2 separate regions of the Homo sapiens genome follow, and region 2 is linked to region 1. Evidence: promoter capture Hi-C in human tissues and cell types (Jung and others, 2019). All regions are on one chromosome and are shown on one strand. The core of a region is centred on a gene start or on the middle of the fragment in contact, and the rest is flanking DNA. Distances in the headings are between cores, read along the strand shown. Region 1 holds the start of VSTM2B (V-set and transmembrane domain containing 2B). Region 2 has its middle 6.6 kb from the start of UQCRFS1-DT.

Region 1 (5,734 bases), core at 2,290-4,789:
AGTCCTAGCTACTTGGAAGGCTGAGGCAGAAGGATCGCTTGAGCCCAGGCATTCAAGACCAGCCTGGGCAACAGCAAGACCCCATCTCTACAAAAAACATTTTAAAAATTAGCTGGGTATGGTGGCGCATGCCTGTAGTCTCAGCTACTTAGAAGGCTGAGACACGAAGATGGCTTGAGCCCAGGGGTTCAAGACCAACCTGGGCAACAGAGCAAGAACTCACCTCTACAAAAATTTTAAGCACAAAATTAGCCAAGTGTGATGGTGCATGCCTGTAGTCCTAGCTACTTGGAAGGCTGAGGCAGAAGGATCGCTTGAGCCCAGGGGTTCAAGACCAGCCTAGGCAACATAGCAACACCCCATCTCTACAAAAAAAATATATATATATTAGCAAGGCATGGTGGGCTAATCCTCCTGGTGTCAGCATGATAACTCTGGAGGCTGAGGTGCTTGAGCTCAGGACGTTGAGGTGCAGTGAGCTAAGATCGTGCCACTGCACTCCAGCCTGGACAACAGAAAAAGACCGTGTCAAAAAAAAAAAAAAAAAAAACCATAGTGAAGGTGGGTCAGCTGCTCTCATCACAGTCTACAAGGCAGGGCAGAAAACAGATAGACCAAGCTGAACAGACAGGAAAGAGACTACAAGTCTAGCTCAGGCTGCTCCTTGCTCCCATCAGTCAAGGGTAGGGCCTTGCTCTCCACACCAACTCGAGGCATCAGGACCAGGGGCTCACCTGGAGGAGGGAAGAGCTTAGTGTTTTGGTTAAGATCCAGGACCCCAGAGTAAGACAGGCTTTGGGTTGATGCGTCACTCAGCCACTTACTAACTATGTGACCTTGGGCAAGTTCCGTAAGCTTCTGAGCTTCAACCATAAAATGGAGTGAAATCACCATGTCTACCCCTGGAGTTGTGATTGAGGTAAAATGAGCTCATTCATTCATTCCACAAGTATTTACTGAGCTCCTACTCTGTGCCCGACCCTGTTGTAGGCGCTAGAGATACATCAGTGAACAAGGCAGGCACAGTCTTAGAGACCTGCAACAAGACACTCAATAAATAAGGATGTGGTCCCATGTGTTGGAAGATGGCTGGCGAAATGGAAAAAATAAAGGAAGCAGAGTGAGGGCCTGGGAGTGCTGGGTGGTGGGAGGAGAGGCAGTGTAGACTGCAGTGTTAAATATGGTGGCCCAGGTGGGCCTCATGGAGAAGGTGACTGCTTGACAAAAACCAGAGCACAACGGAGTTAGCCAAGCAAGTATCTGTGGGAGAAGCATGTCAACCAGATGGTGCGGCTGGTGCAAGGGCCCTGGGGTAGAAGCATGCCCAGTGTGCTGCATTGTAGGAAGGAGAACAGTGTGGCTAGGGGAGTGTGAGCTATGGAGAAGACAGAAAAGATGAGAAGATGAAGGAAAAGGGTGAGCAGGAAGCAGAAAGGCAGATGGTTTGACCTTGGCAGCCACTGCAAGGCCACTGGTGTTTATGCCAAGTGAAATGGGAGCCACTGTGGGGTTTTTCAGCAGTGGAAGAGGGATCTGATTTCCCTGAGAAGGATCTCTTTGTCATGTTGAGAACTGATGCCTAGAAAGTGTCTAGTACATGGAAAGCATGTGAAAACATGTATCTGTCGCTCTTAGAGTAATACCAACTCATGCAGTGGGCAAGAAACACCCAACCCCACAAGGCGGTACAGGGATAAATTACTTCCAGATAATTCCCTCTAGCTACAGGGATTCTCCCACGGGCATCGCTGGTCTCCAGCATTAGCCTCTGCTTGGATCTGGCATCAGGAAAGGAGACTGCTACCTCTCCAGGTGGGCCACTGCGCAGTGGGCTAGCTCTTTCTTCAGAACCCTGCTTGGAATCAGTCCCCAAATGAGCCTGCTTTCCTGGAACCCCGCTGTGGTCCTGAATCTGCATAGAGCGGTGCAAGTCTGCCCTCTCCCTTCAGAAGCTGAGGACAGCAATGGGGCCTGGCAGGGTCTTACATTCGGGGGTCCAAAGTGGTTTCTAAGGGCACATGGGATTTCCTAGGAAAAGCTCCTGCCATGACAGAAGGAGCTGGCAACTGCCTCTGTGGAGCCCCTAGAGAGGAACTTGAGGGAAAGGAGGAAAGTCCTATAGGACCCCCTTCTTCCCTTTGCCCCCAGCAGGAGACCTTAGAAAACAAGGGCTTGATAGATGAGCCACAGTGAGCCAGGGGGTGGGAGTGACTCCTGGGCCATAGACGAGGAAACTGAAAGGCAGGCACTGGAGGCAAGAAGGGCTGGCCCCGGGCACCCGCTGGCGAGGACAGCCTTGGAGAGGGCCTGCAGCTCCTCCCCTCTGAGCTGTGCTGCGCTGGCCGCCTGGACCAGGGTGGCTGCTGGAGAGTGTTTTCCCTCTGGGTTTCCTTCTCCTTGGCTCCCAGGGAATCCTCTGGCGGTGCCTCCGGGAGGCTGGTAGCCGGGGAAGCAGGCACGTGAATCCACCGGGCTGCCCCACCCCAACCTGAGGTCAGAGCTGAGGCGTAGGGGCCGGGGTAGGGGCAGAGGTGCCGAAACGCACTAGCTGGGGACTCCCGGGGGAAGGAGATAGGAGAGACCCAAGGCGAGCCTTAGGACTCGCCCCTATGACTATGACTACGCGCTGCGTCCGAACCACATGTCCACCCCGCATTTGCCTTCGGGGACCAGACCGCGCTCCCTCAGATGGCTGGGGAGGGAGCAGACTCCGGGTGAAGGCTGGGGGAGGTACCGGGATGCCGAGTACGCCAGAGCAGGCGGGGGATGGGTTCCGGCTTCCTGCCGCCTCGGCATCTCGCTTTGCACCGGGCAAAGAAGGGGCCACGACCGGCGAAGAGCGCGTGGAGACACAGGGACCCGCGATCCAGGGGCAGGAACCCCGCCCCCTCCCGGAAACCTCCCGGGCCCTGAGTCGTGCCCGGCGCTCCCCACCCCACCCCACCCCCGCCGCCCCTGCCGTCACTCACGGCCGCTGCGGGCTGGCTAGCGTGTGCGCTCTCCGCGCCGCAGGCACCTGCTCGCTGGGCGCTGTGCGCTCACTTCTCCCTCGCGCACTGCAGACTCCCGGCGCTGCCGCCGCCACCCAGCGTAGTCTCCGGCTGGGCACAGCGTTCCGCCCTTCTCGCGGCCCCGGGCGCCCACCCATCCGTCATGGCCCAGGCCTGGGCCAAACAGCGGGGCAGCTGGTTGCCCAAACTGGGGTAAGGAGTTGAGGGCTGGGAGCTGCAGAGAGGACCGAGGGACACACGGGGAGCAGGGATGAGCGGCCGTCTCGAGCCGTGCAGACTGGGAAGAAGCCAGGGAGAGTTTGGGTGGGAGGACTCCCAACCCAAGCGGGTGCGGGGCGGGGCTGTACTCCAACCAGAAAGACGGTGGTCCCTCCGAGCGACCCCCGAGGAGAGAGGGGGAGCGCTCTGGGGCGGGGGCGGGGCGGGCTGTGGCAGGAGAGGGGAGGGCGGGGGCGATGCAGCGGTGGAGGCGGCTTGGCGCCCAGCCACTGACCGCCCCCTCCCTTCCCCTCCCCTCCCCCTCTCCCCGCCTCTCTCCGGCTCCGGGTCCGCCACGCCGGACCCGCTCTCCCCGCGCTGCGCTGGGTCGGACGCCAGGTCTGCGCGCCGCGGCTGAGCGCCCACTCGCCCTGCGGAAAGAGCCGCGGAGGAACCGGCGGGGGCGGCTGCGGGAGCCGAAGGAGGTGGCAATCGGGAGCAGAACCAGAAGGAGACAGGGAGGCAGAAGCTCGCGGCTCCGTGGCACGCACTCCCTCGGCCAGGGATGGGTCCCGGCGCGGCCCAGCCCCTGCCCGGCCCGCCGGGCAGAGACTGAACCGCGGATCCCCACCGTCCTGTGGACGACCGGACAGAGAGAGGCACTGACCGATCGCCAGCAGCCTCCCGGTGGGACCGCGTCTCCTGCACACCCCGCGCAGCGCCCCCCGCCGGAGCCGCACCGGGCAAGCCGGCGAGGGAGCGGGGCTGATTGGCGGCCGCCGGCGGCCAGGGGAGGGGGCGCCGCGCGGGGCCATGGCAGGCTCGGAGGCGTCCTAGCCCGAGCCGGAGCCGATCCGAGCCCACGCGGCCGCCGCCTCTCCGCTCCCGGGCCCCCGCCGCCACCGCGCCCCCCGCGGGAGATGGAACAGCGGAACCGGCTCGGTGCCCTCGGATACCTGCCGCCTCTGCTGCTGCATGCCCTGCTGCTCTTCGTGGCCGACGGTGAGCGCGGGAACTTTGCTGCCGCTGTGGACTCGGGGGGGTCTTTGCTGGGGCCGCCACCGAGAAGAAGAAGAAAGAGAACGAACCGGGAAGCTTCGCGGTCTCCAGCAATCCCGCTGTGCAGCCTGGGCCCGGAGGGGTAGGGAGAGGCGAGCGGCGAAGGGTCGCCGCAGCAGCAGCGCCGCGCCCGAGTCGTTCCCAGTCCCGCCGGGGCCCCGGCTGCGGAAAGGATGCCTGCGGGGAGCGGGAGTAGGCGCGCCCCAGCCAGGCTCTGGCGGTGCGGCCAGGGGCGGGGGAGAAGCACGAGTCGCCCCTGCCGCCCCGCCCCATCCGGAGGGAAGCAGTAGGCAGCCGATGGCCGGTCCCTGCCTCGGCCCTGCAGCCGCTTCCCCGAACTTTGCTAGCCCCTCCGGCCGTGCGCCAGGGAGCAGCTGCGGGGTGGGGGGCACAAGGCCAGCCAGCCAGAGACCGACTGCCTCGCTTTAGGTTGCCCCAGGCCCCCGACCTACAGCTGGTCACGCCTCTCTCTCTCTCCCCACCCCCAGCTGCATTCACAGAAGTCCCCAAAGATGTGACAGTACGGGAGGGAGACGACATCGAAATGCCCTGCGCGTTCCGGGCCAGCGGAGCCACCTCGTATTCGCTGGAGATTCAGTGGTGGTACCTCAAGGAGCCACCCCGGGAGCTGCTGCACGAGCTGGCGCTCAGCGTGCCGGGCGCCCGGAGCAAGGTAACCCGCCGCCCACGCGGTACCGGCGCGCGCCCGGCTCGCGCCCGGGGCGGCGAAGGCTAACCCAGGGAGGGAAGCAGCGGGCTTCACTCGCGCAGGGCGCCGCCCTGTGGCGCAGCCCATCTTCCACCTTCGCATCCCAAAGCATCTTCAAAGTCAGCAGTGGTTACCCCCAAACCTGTCAATTATTTTGACAGCATCGCTGTTCCCACCACCTCCCAGAACTCCATTCACGCCCAGCCCCTAAAGAGCCACACCTCAGCCTGGTCGCTTGCTCGTGCTCGCTGGCTGCGGCCCTCTGATGGGTGCTGGGTAGTGAAGGAAGCCCCCTTGGTCCCATCAGGCTCTCCCCGCCCTCTGCCACTTTGAGGACCCCAGGGCTCCCACGGCTGCGTTCCAGAGGCCACCAGAAAACCGAGTACCGGAAAGCCGGCAGGACCTCCAGCCCTCAGGGGCACAGAGGGGCCACTTCTCTGTGGCCGAAAACAGGCCCACGCTGCCTGTCTGCCTCAAAACCCACACTCTCTTACACACTCTAGTGTGCTCGCGTGCACACACACCTACACACACACCTACACCTACACACACCTACATTCTCCCAGGGTCCCACCCAGAGTTACTCCCACTGAGCCTCCCGCTGGGTGCTGTCCAGACACAGCGGCCCTCCCTCCAGTTCTTCACGGCTCCCAGTGAGCTGGGGGAGGATTTTGAGCCACGCGGCAGGGCCTAAGGATGCCCAGAGGGAAGGAGAGGGGCTTTCCTTCCCACCCTGGTGTCCATCCAGTCTCCCCAG
Region 2 (5,734 bases), core at 950-3,449, 310 kb before region 1:
TTTCCCACTGTGTCCATTCAGTTACATTACCTGCCCATCTGCTGAGGCCTCGAGTTTGGGACCTCAGGTTTATATAATTCCTTGCACAAGCATGATCGATTGATTCCGGAGAGTAGCAGAACACTGATATGCAGGGGAATCTCCTAGTTCCAAGTGTGAGTTGTAGTCTAGACACTTCCTGTTCCCTACAGTCTTTTTTTTTTTTTTTTTTTTTTTTGAGACAAAGTTTTGCTCTGTTGCCCAGGCTGGAGTGCAGTGGTGTGATCTCGGCTCACTGCAACCTCTGCCTCCTGGGTTCAAGCAATTCTGCCTCAGCCTCCCGAATAGCTGGGATCACAGGCACATGCCACCATGCCCAGCTAATTTTTGTATTTTTAGTAGAGTTAGGGTTTCGCCATGTTGGCCAGGGTGATCTCAAACTCTTGACCTCACATGATCCGCCCGCCACAGCCTCCCAAAGTGCTGGGATTACAGGCGCAAACCACCGCCCCCAGCCCTCTTCCCTACTGCCTTGATGTGTTCATCTGGGCAATGTGTGTTGAGGGGGCATAGGGAGGGGAGCTCTAAGGCAAATGTGCTGGGATTCTGCATTCGTCATCCTCAAAACAAAATTGGTCCCTAGGTAGTTCTGCCTGTGATCCTGCATAATGTGCAAAGCCAGTAAGATGCCTTTGCCTCATCCCCAGGGAACATGCCTCCCAGCCACTTTCATCTCACCTAGTGCCTACACAGAAAGGCAACCGCCTCCCTGCTGAAGGGACCCCACGCCTGTCTCCTGTTTCCACACAATTACCCCGGGAAATGCCTGGCTTCCCATTTCCAGTTGCAGCCATCTTGACAGTTTCAGCCTCTCCCCACAGCCCACGTCCCTCACTTGAGCAGCGAGATGTGAAGACAGACAGCCGCTTGAGAACTGCACAGACTGTCCTTAATCTAAGCCATTTAAAAGGCATTTGTGTTCCATAAAACCCGTTTCTGTAATTCTGTGCCCCTACTTCTTTGAAAGATGATAACCCTAGGGAGGAGATTAGCCAGGGAGGAGAAGTTCAGATGTGCTAATATTTTAATCGCTCATTCTTTCATCACATTAGTCACATTCATTAAGTATGATTAATTTCAGGCTTTGTTGAAAACCCTATCAGTTTCCCTATCAGCCACACATCCATCTCTTGCCAAGCAGGCTGGTGCAGTAGCACCAAAAGTCCCCCAGTGTTTTTTACACCTGGATTGTATTATGTGCCCCCTGAAAATGTGTGGAATTAATTGAGCTCATTTGTTTCAAATACTTTGCAAGAGCCTGGGCTCTTGAGTCAGGCGGCCTAAGTGTGATCCTAAGTCCTCCCATTGCTGGAGTCACCTGGGCAAGTGACTGACGCCCTCTGAGCCCTGGTGTCCTCGTCTGAGGATGGAGATAAGAATACCTAACTCGAAAGTTGGTTGTGAAGATGAAAGAAGGCTTTCAAATTGCTAAGTTAGTTGGTTATGATTGTAATTAAGGGCCCTTGGAGATGGATCATTCATCCATTCATTCATCCATTCAGAAGATTTGTGTACAGTGACTACTGTATGCAACCCTGTGTGTCCACTGCTGATGAGAGAGACAGCAGCAAACACAGCAGTCAAATGCGTGTGGCCCCCAGGACCTTATATTTTAGTGGTGGAAGCTAGACAACCACCAAACATGTAATATACCAGATGGTGGTACGTTCTATGGAGGAAAGAAAGGACGAGGGGCAGGGAGTCCTGGGCTGGTGGGACAGGGTGCTATGGCTCAGAGGGAACTCAGAGATCACCTAATTCAGGCCCTGACCTGGAGGGCTCATGCTTTGCACACTGTGCTAAGAATTTGGACTTTCTTTCTCCAAGAATAAGGACAATGAGAGCCAGCAAGCAGGGAAGTGGAGCAAGGATGGTGCCGTCCGGCTGCTCAGCTGCTGGCTGGAACTCCCGGAGGACTCTGTGAGGATGCAGGTAGAAGGTGTGTAAGCATGTGACTGCATGGAAGCCCTCGGCATGTGATCCACTCCGTGTTCCAAATTGCCATCCTTTCTGCGTGCTGTTAGGGACTTCCCCCAGCTCTCCCTGCAGAGTGAGGAGTACTCTGAGACAGACGGGTCTAGGATGAACTGTGTTGATGGAGAAATGAACATTTTTTGGAGGGAAGGAAGATTTCGGGGTGTGGGGCATAAGTTGAAGGAGTATGGCTCTGAAAGTCCTTGGGCAGTTTGTAGAGGACAGAGAAGGTGGTAATGTCAGTTTCTGCCCCTCTCCCACCTCCACCTCTGGCCTTCTCAGTGGTCCTATGGCTCCCTACCTTCAGTCATCTTGTTCTCAAGCCTGAAGTGCTGGATCCACTCAGCTGCAACCCAGCTCAACACCTCTGTGGAAGCTTTGCCCATCAATCAGGAGAAGCTGAGATCCAGAGACTGATGCCCACGTTCTGTCTTTGCAGAGGGAAGCCCACCAGAGCCCTCTTCTCTCTGGGGAGGAGCTGGCTCCCTGAATCTCCAAGACAAACCCAGACAGCCCTGGGGACCTTGAATGTGAGCAAGGGGAGCAGAAAGGAGGCTCCAGCCCACCCAGGGCCCCTGCAGGGTCTGCACACACAATTACAGGTCCTCATTTCCCTCTCCTAATGATGCCCCAAAACATTAAGGGAAGTTAAATCAAACCACCAGGTGTCCAGCATGAACAGCTGAAATAATAAATTCACGAGGTAAGTAAGACATTTTATTTGTACTATTTCAAAATTGGTAGATGCAGGAAAGCAAATTGTGATGTGCTTGGGATTTAATTTGTATTTCAAGGTACTAATGAAGGTAGCACCCATTTTCCCAAAGGCCTTTTCATCCCTGAATCTTGAGAGCACTTTTCTAAGCATATTGGGAATAAATTAAGTTGCAAAACCTCCATGAAAAAGATTACGGTTAAAACATAATTTTGAGGAACCACTTGAGTTTATCCATTTACCTGCTTTTAAGTACACACACCTATTTTTTTTGCAATTATTTTTCACAAAAGAAGGAACTTTGTGTGACGTATACAAGCAGGTAATGGCAAACCTCCAGCATCTTTAAAATAAAACTCAAATTGGGCTGGGCAGGATATTACATGCCTGTAATCCCAGAACTTTGGGAGGCCAAGGCTGGTGGATCACCTGAGGGAGCTCGAGACTAGCCTGAGCAACATGGTGAAACCTTGTCTCTACTAAAAACAAAAAAAATTAGCCAGACATGGTGGCGGGTGCCTGTAATCCCAGCTACTTGGGAGGCTGAGGCAGGAGAATCACTTGAACCCAGGAGGTGGAGGTAACAGTGAGCCAAGATCATGCCATTGCACTTCAGCCTGGGCAACAAGAGCCAAACTCTGTCTCAAAAAAATAAAATAAAATAAAAATAAAACTCAGGCTGAACTAAACCAGCCTTCTGAGTCAATGTGCAGATATTCCATAATGAAGTATGCTGATTAATAAATTATTTGATTACCAGGTAAGTATACCTGCAATCAATATAACTGCCGAAAAGCTCTGAATTAGAAATGGTGCAATAAAATTTAACTGAAAGGTATTAGGAATTGGTAGTTTTAATTACAGGGAATGATTAATTGATCATTTAGACAGTATTGATCTACAACTTATTTAATTCTTTGCAATTTAATTTGTCAGATTTGAATCCAAATAACTGATGATTTGTTCCATGAATGCCAGAGCTGGAAGGGATGGGGTTGGCAGAAGAGACAAGACTGGACCATGGACCTGGTGGTTCTGTGCAGAGGCCAAAGCTACTCTCCTTCCCACCTGGCCCTGTGCTGGGCCTAACCTGGAGCCCCCTCTATCCTCTGCCTCATTCTTCTCCGGGTCAAGGTCCAGCATGAACTCCATGTCCTCCAGGAAGCCCTGGTGGACTTGGGCAGACCTGGGGACACGTCCAGCCTCCTGGCAAGATGGGGGTAACAGGAGTGTGTATAAAGGGGAAGGCAAGAATGTGCCCTTGGTGGAGCAGTGAAAAGAAGCCCTCATGTGACAAGTGTTTTGCTCCTAACCCACCTCCTCTGGTGACATCTTCTGGGTTAACTGCTCTTGCTGATCTCTGCACATAAACCAAGCTAACTGTGAGAGGCCTTTCATTTCTAGTTTAAAGCAAGGAGACCACAGTTCCTTCTGAACACTCACCCCCAAGGAGATAAGGAGGGCGTCCCATGAGCAACACTGTGTGTTAAAGATGTACACGAGCACTGGGACCTGACCAAGGACAAACACGTCTCCAGCCCCCTCAGACCCTTGCTGCTGCTCAGATGTCCGCTGTCATCGGTCACATCCTAACCTCAACCCCCTCTCTCCTCCCACATAAAAGGAGGCTGAAATTCATAGTAACTTCAGATGGTTCTTTAGGACACTGGCCCACCACCTTCTCGGTTGCTGGCTCTCCAAAACAAAGCCCCCTCCCTTGACCCAATTCCTTGTTTCTTGACGTACTGGCTGTTGTGCAGTGCATGGTACCGGCTTGAACTCGGTTATGTTGGCATGGCCTCTGGCGGTGCTCAGTTTGTGTGGATGAGTATTTTACAGCTACTGTCCTATTTCCAGTCCCCTTCCTCTGGACGGCTATGGGATGTGCTGTGGATGCCCTCTCTTAGGCTGGAATAAACCACCCTACCTTCTCCTCTGCCTTGTCTCCACCAAATAAACTCCTTAAGGCAGGGATAGAGTCTTGCACTCCACGAAGAAGTATTGCTGCATCCTCAGCTGTGTAAGAGTGACCGGGCTTCTTCTATTCCACCTGTAATGGAACTTTAGGCACGCAGAGAGAGATGGCAAATTTGTGCTGGCTGAAGGGGTCAGCAAATGCATATAAGGCTTCTTGTGCTCCAGAGAGAGAATGGAGTGCAGTCAGTGAGACCCTGAGGGGAGAAGGAACCAAAAGCCTGGGCAGAAGGGATCGTGGAGGTGCCCAGGGTCAGGAGGGATGGGAAGGGTGAGGAACACAAGAGATCACCTGGAGGCATTAGAGGAGAAGGCAGGCACTGGGGATGGTGCCGCTGATCCAGGTGGAGCAACATCCTAGGACCCGAGTGCTGGGCAGGTGCATCCGTGGAGGGAAGCTTCTCTCCTCTCTCGGCTCCTGCTGAGAGAGGCAATCATTCCCCTGGCTTGCCCTGCAAGAGACAGGAGCTCTAGGTAGATCTCTGCTATCTAGGGAATAGAATGTGAATATTTGAAAGTTCTAGAGGTCAAGTCTTAGGTTCCCTCTCAGCTCAGATCCCAAATGGTACACTCTACCCTAACCCCCTTTTCTTGTAGCTTTGCTACATGGAGAGGAAAATACCTTGCCAGACACCAACAGTCCCTTCTCAGCACTTTTGTGTGAAGACAACTCAGACCCTAAGAGAATGGGGTCTAATTTGCAGGTGCCACTGGAAGGCAGAGGTCACGGGAGCCCTGGACTTCAGACAAGGTAGAGGGATCCTGGAGACAGCACATCTGGCCCTGGAGCCCTGCCCACCCGGGGAGTGAGGGCAGCTCTCCTGCTCTCCTAGGAGGCCTGCCCGAGGACCCCCATGTCCTCTATGTGTGGGATTCTGCAGTTTGCACTCACAACCCAGAGCCTTTTACCCAACTACCCTGTTTGTAGGAATGTGTCCAAAATAAGCATCAGACAAGTACATGAAGATGAATGTGCAAAGACGTTCATAACAGGATTGTTTATAATCATGAAAAATGATCTGCAGATTTCCT

The links. Contacts are between HindIII fragments. The study calls those that stand out against the background at their distance.
Region 2: a contact is called between a fragment that was not itself captured here and the fragment with the promoter of VSTM2B in region 1, in 1 of the 25 tissues and cell types used here (dorsolateral prefrontal cortex).

Annotation. Positions count from the first base shown.
Region 1 is chr19:29,522,455-29,528,188 of GRCh38, forward strand. VSTM2B (V-set and transmembrane domain containing 2B) reads left to right here and starts at 3,540. Exons shown (of 5, transcript NM_001146339.2): 1 at 3,540-4,211; 2 at 4,757-4,941. The coding sequence starts at 4,130. VSTM2B-DT (VSTM2B divergent transcript) reads right to left here and starts at 3,296. Exons shown (of 10, transcript NR_040029.2): 1 at 2,970-3,296. The region is part of intron 1 of LOC124904683 (a long non-coding RNA gene); the gene reads right to left. The HindIII fragment of the contact is 17,468 bases long and covers 1-5,441 here.
Region 2 is chr19:29,217,001-29,222,734 of GRCh38, forward strand. No RefSeq gene overlaps it. Among named protein-coding and RNA genes, the nearest start is that of UQCRFS1-DT, 6.6 kb to the left of the region's middle. The HindIII fragment of the contact is 3,089 bases long and covers 656-3,744 here.